Linked DNA regions of Homo sapiens: region 1 is linked to region 2. The links are contacts of gene promoters, found by promoter capture Hi-C in human tissues and cell types (Jung and others, 2019). All regions are on one chromosome and are shown on one strand. The core of a region is centred on a gene start or on the middle of the fragment in contact, and the rest is flanking DNA. Distances in the headings are between cores, read along the strand shown.

Region 1 (4,621 bases), core at 625-3,124, 550 kb before region 2:
CTTGTGCTAACAGGGCCATTGCTGCCAGAGTCCTTAGACATGGGGGCCAGCCTTTGGAAACCCCGTCTAGTTGTTTTGAGAGATAGGCCAGTGGCCTTGGCCAGGGCCCTACAGTCTGGGTTAAAACTCCAACTGCCATTTTTTCTCTTTGTGATACACAGGGTGTAAAGGGTTTTGTCAGGTCAGGTAGCCCCAGGGCTGGGGCCGACATGAGTTTTTTTTGTTTTGTTTTGTTTTGTTTAAATTCATGAAAAGCTTGTTGCTGTTGGTTGTAATAGATGTAATTTATCTAATCTAGATTTTTATTAACTGTCACATACTAAAATATTGACTTAAATCCTGTAGCTATTTGATTTCAAGCTTTAAATTGATCTGTTATTCCTTGTGGGGCTCCAATTGCATCTAAATAGATGTGAGAGTTGAAAGACCCATAAGGGGCTTCTCTCGCTTTACGATGTCTTATTTTTTTCTCCTTCTGGTTGATGAAATGCCAGGGTGAAAGGGATAGCCAGATGGACTAAACCACAAGTGCCACTCCAGTTATTCAGCAGAGTGTCCAGTAAAGGTTCACCACAATACCACCACACGTCCGCGCAGGGATGAACAAGGGCTGACTGATTGATAAGCTCTTGAAAATTCTTAAGCTCATTGCATCCCTTCAGGTCTCCAAGGAATGCTGTTTCCTGCCTGTCGTGAGAGACACAAAGTGAACTTAGTGTTGGGAGATGGAAGCTGGATGGCTCTCAGGGGCTGACCCGCAGGGTGCCGGACTTCGGGATATAGCAGAGAGAGCTTGGCATGACTTATTACTCCAGGCTGTAGAATCCTGGAAAAGAGCTACCATGCAGCCTACGCCTGGTCAACTGGAGGACCACCTTAGTGGAAACGAGACAATCTGGGCCTCTGGCCTGCCATGTGCACAAGAATAACAATTGCTTTTGTTTAACATGCAGAAGGAATATTTGATCAATTTTAACCAGGTATTTGCATCTTGGTATGCTGTCTTAATTGCCAAAGTTTGTTTTAAGTCTTTAACTTCTATGATCCTCTAGTAAAATGAATGTATGATTTTAGGAAATTACAAAAACCGGTTGGGGCAGTCCATCCTTGCTCTTTAGTGGTCCACAGAACATTGGACCAACTAAGGCATTAAAGCTCTACATTGGGGGTAAGACTCCTGGTTGGCACTGGGGTCTTTATTGAAATCTGCCCGGATTAAATGGTCCTAGTTTACTAATGCCCAGTCTGAGGAGAGTCAGGAGGGACAGAGGTACTTTTCTGAAGTAGAGAGCTGTCTTCGACTTGGCAAGTCCCCACAGGGTCTAACAAGACAAGCATTAAATGCAATAGTTCAAGGTGAAATTGACTTGGTTATGTTAATAACCAGATGGTCAGCAACAGAGCAAGGAAAGAAGAAAGAGTAATAGAATAGATGAAAAGAATTAAATTTTTCTCAGCTTTAGTTTGGTAGGGTTTTCCCCTGGGACTATGGCCCACGACTCTGGAAGGGGTGGCGCTTTCTTGACTCGGGTGTGGTGAGTCCACCCTTTTTTTTTCTGTACAAACAGCAGTCTTGGTGGTTAGCAGCCCAAGGTAGGGTCCTTCCCAGGCTGGCTCGAGTTTTTCTTCTTTCCACCCTTTGATAAGAACGTGATTTTCAGGCTGGTGCTGGTTTACCGGAAATTCTAGGGGTGGTACCTGTACTAAAAGACTTTTAGTTTTTGAGGGAAAGGAAAGTGGAAGATACACCGAGTATATAATTTCTAAGAAATTGACCTTTTGTTTTAAATGTGGGGACCTTGGCAGTGGACTTTATAGTCCTTGGTGCCTTCTTACTGAGAAATTTCCGTTAGCACCTATTTTTATTAGTTTTTAAACCAAAGAAAGGCAAATACCACTTTACATTTAGCAATGCTATTTGTATGATTTTTATACCAGATAAGCTAAATTTTACCTTTATATTAGTGTGTTATTAATGTTAAACCTAATTTTAATAAAACCTTGTAGACATATTTATCCAATTTTTAATGTTTGACCATAAGGTAAGATTTTATAGACTCTTTTTAACCTTTTATAATTTTTGCTAAAGAGCAGGTTGGTGCTTTAAGAAAAATCTGCTATGCTTTTATTTTAATGTCCAGTTTACAGCAAAACTGGATGATACCTCTAACTTTAGCCAATGTTTACACACAGAATTTTCTTTTCAGTGTACATTTTAAAACTTGATTAAACCTTTAAAACAAAGTATACACATTTTTAACCTTCTAATATAGGTAAAAATTTATATTCTTATGCCTCCTTATAATTCTTTTACCAAAGGTATATTTTAATTTCCTTATACACCTTGCACATAAACTGTTTTTTCTTAGCTACTTGTATATATCTCTCTTTCTCTCTTTGACTTTGTCTCTCTCTCTTTGACTTTCCTTTTGCCTCTGTCTCTTCCTCTGTTTATCTGCTTCTCTCTCTCTCCTCTCTGCCTCTCTCTCTCTCCTCTCTCTCTCCTTTCTGCCTCTCTCTCTCTCCTCTCTGTGTCTCTCTCTCTGCCTCGCTTATGCTGCTGTTCTCTCAACCACTGTGGAGAGATCTAAAACCAGCTGTAACCAAGCGTCTATGTATGGGAACTGATCTGGGTGCCCTGGCTTACAGGTTACCTTGTGCCACACCTTTGAAACAAGGGACCTGTCCAGGCTTCCTTCTGATGGCCAACCCACCTCTAATGCTGGTCAGTCTATTTTACACAAAGTTTTAAGTTTTCCTGGTGTCATAGTACTCCATAGTCTCCCTTAAATCCTTTTTTGAAATTTTTCAACATGGTTCCTAGTAGGATGGGCTTATTTGTGCCTGACCCATGCTTCTTCAAGACAAAACACAACACTCACACCACACGCACACCACAAAACAAAGAACAGGTAAAAAGGGCACACACACACTTTTGCAGTTTACACCAAACCAAAATCAGAGTATCCAGAAATCTAAGCCAGGTCAAAACCAAAACCAAAGTATCAAGCAATCCAAGTCAAGTCAAAAACAAAAACCAAAGTGCCAATAAAGGCACACTGTGGGTGATCAGGCCACGCTTCCACTCAAATGGAGTAGGCAGGTTTGCAGGTTCCAAAGACTAGTCTTACCAAGTTTCAGATGTCTGCACTGCAAGTACCAGTTCCTTCCCGGTGTTCAGCCACTGCATTGATTCTCCACGGGGGCCTGCTACACACTGCTCTGGCGAGGCGTCCCACTGGGGCAATTGCCTGCCCAGGATGCTCTCATGATCCACGTCAGAGAGCGGAGGGCTGGTCGGAGTCCCCCGCAGGGATGTTCCACAGGGCAGGCTTAAGCCACCTAAGGAGCTGCTTCAACCATCCGCCAATCACCTCGCTTCCTGGTCAGGGAACCAAGAAATGTAGCAGGACGAGTAGCAGACAAAACTCCTCAGACACCAAGTTAAAGAAGGAAGGGCTTTATTCGGCCGGGAGCATTGGCAAGACTCCTATCTCAAGAGCCGAGCTCCCCAAGTAAGCAATTCCTGTCCCTTTTAAGGGCTCACAACTCTAAGGGGGTCCGCATGAGAGGGTCGTGATCGATTGAGCAAGCAGGGGGTACGTGACTGGGGGCTGCATGCACCGGTAATTAGAACGGAACACAACAGGACAGAGATTTTCACAGTGCTTTTCTACACAATCTCTGTAATCTATAGATAACATAACCGATTAGGTCAGGGGTCTATCTTTAACTACCAGGGCTGGGCTGTGTGTGGTGCTGGGCTGTCTGCTTGTGAATTTCATTTCTGCCTTTTAGTTTTTACTTCTTCTTTCTTTGGAGGCAGAAATTGGGCATAAGACAATATGAGGGGTGGTCTCCTCCCTTACTATCAAAGCAGGAGTCAGCAGAGGGGGCAGAAGCACTAAGTTGCTGCAACAACACCTGAGAGTGCAGACAGGAGGGGCCCAGTCCCCACCCCCACCTGAGAGTGCAGACAGGAGGGGCCCACCCCCAACCCCCGCCTGAGAGTGCAGAGAGGAGAGACTCACTTCCTCTACCCCCACCTGACTCCCAGTGTCGAGTGCCCTGGGGAGAGCTGCACCCACGGACATCCTGCAGGGTAGGCCAGCACCAAAACCCAGTCTCTTGTTGCATTTTATTCTAAGCAGTCAGGAGAAACCAAGCCGATTCTCAAGAGATGATAACCAATAGAACCCAAGTGTTTGGGATTTGGTGTGGAAGAGGCAGAAAATAGCAGGTCCCGAGGGAAAGATAATGTTTGAGAAGCAAAGCAAGAAAAGATGATGACAAACACAACACTCAAAGGCCCTAGACATAATCACTTTTTTTTTACTGTCATGAACATTTAAACATAACACATTTTCTTTTTTTCTAATTTCATCTCCCTCTTCCTTCCCTGGTCTCCAAAGCTGCAGGCCTGAGTGGACTGCTCCCGGGAAGCCACTTTCATGGCGTCCCCTCTCAAGGGTGCCCATCTACCTGGAGCGTCATCATCGTCACTGCTGGAGTCATGTCTCCTGTTGCCAATCCAAGCTCTGGAGACACAAGTACCACAAGAAAGGTGTTACCCAGAGGCACTTACCCATCCTCCCTGCTGCAGGGGAGGCCACACCAGCTG
Region 2 (4,820 bases), core at 1,860-4,359:
CGAGTCACCGCCCCGAGCCCCTGTGCCCAGCAACCCAAGCTGGGAGTGCTGTGAACCAGGCCAGCTCCCCTTGGGAGGGCAGAGTACTACAGCCCTACTGAAGGAGTTTTTAGCATAGGCCACCAACCTTTAGTAGGACTGACAGGCCCCAACCCCAGCATCCGCGGGGCTTGGAGGCAGGTGAGCTGAGTCCAGGGAGCCCAACCTGCAAGAGCCTATGCTCAGGGCAAGGTCGCAGGCAATCGCTGCTGGCACTTCATTCCGCCACTGGTGCCAAGTCACAGAGTGGACCGAGCTGGCTGCAGGGAACCACATGCCTAACTCTTCCAACAGTCACAGTGAGCTGCTGTCCCTTGGAGAGCGGGATGGGGGATGGGGAAGAGGGTGTCCATCCTCCAGGAACAGTGGCGAGGAGGACGGTGGATAGAGGGACTGGGAGGGAGCAGAGCGGCCTTTAACCTTAGTGCCACTCCCCAGGACCCCTCCCCGGTCTGCACTGAGGACCATAAATCACGCTTCATGCTAAAAGCCCTTTGTTAACTCGGTCACTAGCTTCCAATTCACAAATAGTAAATGTGCCAGGCACAGTGCCAAGCGCTTAGGATACAGAGATGATCCCTGAGCAGTGACACCCTCTGTGTGTAAGGCACCTGAAGAATCCCTTTCCCAAATCGCTTTTCAAGCTGGCGGGGAGAGAGGTGCATATCCGCTCTGTGGAAGCTTAGCTCTTCATCTATGCGAGTGAGACTAGACCCCTGCAAAATGGAAACTCAAACTGCAAAGTAGAGAACGAGGCCAGCATCCACCCGTGGGTCCCTCCTGCTGCCCCGGGACCCCGCCTGGCCACACCTTCCCTCCACTCGGAGCGCCTTTCTGGGTTTTCCGCTGAGGTTTGTTGAAAAGACGCCTCCCAGACTCTTCACTCACGAAGTGTGTTACAAAAACTCTCCCGGCAACTGTCCTGACCCTCACCAATCACGCTACAGCCCCCATTCGATTGCTTGCACAAAGAAAACATTTAACACAGGTGTGATCAACCTCGGTCAAGATGCAGAGTCATCAACCTCGGTCAAGATGCAAAAAGGTGGCCTTTTCTGCGAAGGCCACGCCCTCTGTAAATACAGTTACTACTTGGTGAAAAGCGCTCTACTTCCTAGCTCTTGTTGGTGAGAGGGAGAGCAAAGAACCAGGGCCCGGCATTCTTACGAGAGGAATTCAATGTCACAGGCACTGCCTGTTTGAGGAGAAGATCAGAAACGGTCCGACTCCCAGAACGCAGCACCCAGTTGCTTTGCACGCCAGGCCAGTCCTGGGGAAACGGTGCAACGCTTGTCTGGGCGTCGAGGAGGCTCCCTTGCGGTCCTCCCTGGGCCCTTGCCAGTCCCAAGGAGTTCCAACCCTGCTTTCTAACCCTTTAAAATCTGGAGAGGGCGGCCGCTGGGAGGCGGGACTAGGTGTTGGGGGTCTATAGCCTTAGCATCCAGTACTTTTGTAGTAGGGGCTTTTGTGGAGGTTTTAAAAAATAAGTAAGAAACGTCAAGGCACTGTCTCCCTGTACCTCGTCCCTCTTTTTCTTTTTTGAATGACCGGAGTCCTTCACTTCTTCCTTCACGGTTGCTGGGATTTGGGGTCTGGGAGAGATGGCCTCTGGGCCGTCTGGAGGCACAGCATGCTGTGCTTGCAGGGTCACTGGGGCGAGGGGCTCAGGTAGGAGCCTGACTGTACCTACGATGGGGACGCATCCGCCTTCCAGCCACAGCAATGGCCATCCTTAGTACACAAGTCAGTACTCCACGAAAGAAAATCCACGTGTAACTAAATTCAACATAAACAGTTTCCAGCACATGCCCGTCCCGAGCATCCTGTTAAGAGATACCCCGATCGCGCGCCCCAGAGTGGGAAGTGAGAGAGCCAGGCTGTGCACCAGGGACAGCGCGCGTCTGACGCCGCTGGCCTCCCGAATCGAACCCCAGAGCACCAGAGCCCTTCACTTTGTTAAGAAGTCCCCCACCCAGGCGCCCCCCTCGTCCTCCTCAAGTGCCCTCGGAAAGCGGACCAGACTCACCTACTGCCAGGCAGATGGGCAGCAGCAGCCTGAAGATGAGCCCGCACACCACTTCTGAGGCCATCGCGTCGGTCCGGCGAGTCGGAGCAGAGGGGCGAGGCTCGAGGGTCCCTAGGGGTGGTGGGACGCAAGGCCCATGCCCGTCTATGGCCTCTCGCCGCCGGCAGCTCGCAGCCACCCGAGCATCGCCTCGGCGCGGGCCGCGACGCTCTCCGCCCCGAGGGCACGCTCCCGGGGCTCTTGGCCGCCCCTCGCCCACCGGGCTCTGGGTAGCCCCTCACCAGGCTCTTGGCGGCCACCTAGCCCGGCGCCCGGCCCCCTGCGGCCGGCCCATTTAGTGTGAATCCTGGATCCGGCAGCGGCGGCGGCTTCTTCAGGGGTAGCTGATGCCGGGGCCTTGGAGAGGGACGCTTTGGGAGGGTCCTGGGAGGCGGCGCGGCGAGCAAAGGGGGCAAGAAGGGCGTGCTGTGCTCCCGCCTGGCTCCCGGGGCGTCGTTTGGGGGCGGCCGGGGAGTTTTCTACTTGGAAGCCCCTCTGAAGCCACCGCGTCTCCTTTGCCCGGCCTCGTCTCCGCTGCCCACGCAGGCTGCCGCGCTCTGGCCTCGGCCCCGGCTCTCGGAGCTGCCCGGCGGGCTCCGGGTCTCGCCCTCCAGCCCCCAGGCGGCCCGCGGCGGATCCCCGAGAGGCAGCGCAGCTCAGCCCCTGCGCCCCCCAGCTTCGGGCCGGAGAGACCGGGGTGGGAGCTGCCAGGCGCGCAGAACCATCCCCGCCACCACGGGGCTCGCCTTGTGGGTCCGGTGCGCGGGCGGCGCTGCGAGTCCCTCCCTCACTCGAAGGAACGGCGCGAGCGTGGGGAGAAATGGAGACCAGAGCGCATATCGGGTGAGTGGGTCTCCCACTCCCTCCTCCACCGCCTCAATTTAAAACTCAAGAGAAAAACCAGCGCCGTCCCGTCGCCCAGCGCGACCACCGCCTGCCGCCTTGCAGCCTCGCCCTCGCGGCGCAGCCGGGGCTCCCCGGCGGCGCGCGCTTCTCCACCTTCAATGAAACTTTCGAAGCCCTCACTCGGGGACGGGCGTGTCCCCCGGCCAATGGGATGGCGGCTCCGGGGCCTGCGCGCGCGGAGCCCGCCCCTGAGCGGCTGGGGAAGTGAGAGCCTTGCACCGGCGCGGAGGGCAAGCCCCCACCCGCGGCTCCCGCGCCTGGGAGAGACCCGGCCTGGCCTGCCAGTGGGCTGCGCGCCTTGGCTCGCCCTCCGCGGGCACTCCTGCCCCACTGGCTCCCGCAGCCCCGCGGCTCTGCGTGGTTCTGTCATTCCGGTGGTGCACCCTGGCATCCAGTCCACCCGGCCGGGCCCTGAGCTTGCCCAAACCCAGGGAACCGTTTAAGGTCCGAGGGAAACGCACAGGCCCGGCAGGAGAGAAGCCAGGGGCTTGGAGAGTCCTGTGCGACCCCGACTTCTGCTGGGTCCACAGGTGCACACTGGCATTAAGAAGAATAGAGCTGAATTCATCTACACCGTTGACCCTGCCCATATTTCACATAGCAAGAACTTGCCATTCTGAATAGACTCTGGGAAATCCCGGGTCTTCCCCAACAGATAATGCACCCACTTTGTGCATTTGGGGGAACTCTCCGTTTTCACCTCAGTTTTGCTCCTTGCTTGTCGTGGCTCTGGGGAAAGAGAGCGTTGGCACTGAGAATATTCTCCCTTTCTCCTAGTGCACTGCTTTTTGCCTGTTCTAGGCAAGATCTAGAGAAATCTGGCTCTAGCTGGGAGACTGCAGTGTGCCTGGGTCTTTTATTTAACTGTTATCCGAGAGTGGAGGAGATTTGCTAGAGCACAGTAGGGGTCTTTCCGGACATGGAGGAAGAGGCTGTTAGCATCTGTAGAGAGGACTGTTCAGGACTGGCATTCCATCAGGAGGACACACTGGGAAGGACCTGGCTTCCCTTCCGCACCTACATTCCTGGCTTGCATTAGTTGGAGGGGATAGAGCAGTGAGCTGATGAAAAACAGGCAAACCCCCGTCTTTTTAGCCATTTGAAACGCTTTTGTGGACATCCCTTTTTTGAGACAGGGTAAGCTTGTGGTTTGAGCTCAGGTGCCTTCACGAATTCTCTGAGAATTACAGAAAAACTATGAACCATTGCTTTTTGAATGAAGACTCAAGACAGTTGGCATATGGTGAAGACACCCTGAAACTTAAACCACCCATGTGCTCTGCCATCCTCAAGAAGCTTAGATAGCACCTAAACCCGGGCGTAGTCATGAGCTCAACAGCAGACCTACAGGAGACGATAGAACTTAAATTAGCATCCAGTCACCAAGAAATGCTATCAAGAAATGGTTTGTGTAGCCTGTTTGTAGAAGCCTGATATAAATCTACCACTAATTTTGATGTTCATAAGTCTGCCTTCACATCCATGCCCTCCCCACCTCACCCCATGTACGACTCATTCTTGGGAGCTAATAGGTGAAGGACTCCTGAATTTTAAATAATACTGTGTCATCACATGAATTCTGTATTCTCTGAATACTTTCTTATGTTCTTGATAGGCTTCCCATACTAACAACTGTCTAGACTTTTTCACAATAATTCTCTTTCAAAATAACATAAGCTGGGAGGCACAAGATTCCCAGCAGGTGGGTGGTCTTACCAAATAAACTTCGAGCTTTCTCTGCCACAGTGTGTACCAACTTGGCTGCTGGGGCGTTAGAGATTTTAACAACTACATCCCAGTTCTGAGACTT

The links. The method cuts DNA at HindIII sites, captures the fragments that hold promoters and counts their contacts. A contact is called where the count stands out against the background at its distance.
Region 1: a contact is called between a fragment that was not itself captured here and the fragment with the promoter of PIEZO2 in region 2, in 4 of the 25 tissues and cell types used here (IMR-90 fibroblasts, lymphoblastoid cells, mesenchymal stem cells and 1 more).

What each region holds. Positions count from the first base shown.
Region 1 is chr18:10,600,334-10,604,954 of GRCh38, forward strand. LOC124904248 reads left to right here and starts at 4,415. Exons shown (of 1, transcript XM_047437981.1): 1 at 4,415-4,621. The coding sequence starts at 4,514. The HindIII fragment of the contact is 6,596 bases long and covers 1-4,621 here.
Region 2 is chr18:11,146,460-11,151,279 of GRCh38, forward strand. PIEZO2 (piezo type mechanosensitive ion channel component 2) reads right to left here and starts at 3,110. Exons shown (of 56, transcript NM_001378183.1): 1 at 2,066-3,110. The coding sequence starts at 2,129. LOC124904249 (a long non-coding RNA gene) reads right to left here and starts at 2,057. Exons shown (of 2, transcript XR_007066288.1): 1 at 1-2,057. RefSeq lists enhancers at 1,603-1,652, 1,681-2,519 and silencers at 2,213-2,282, 2,293-2,472, 2,493-2,772, 3,013-3,462. The HindIII fragment of the contact is 6,242 bases long and covers 1-4,820 here.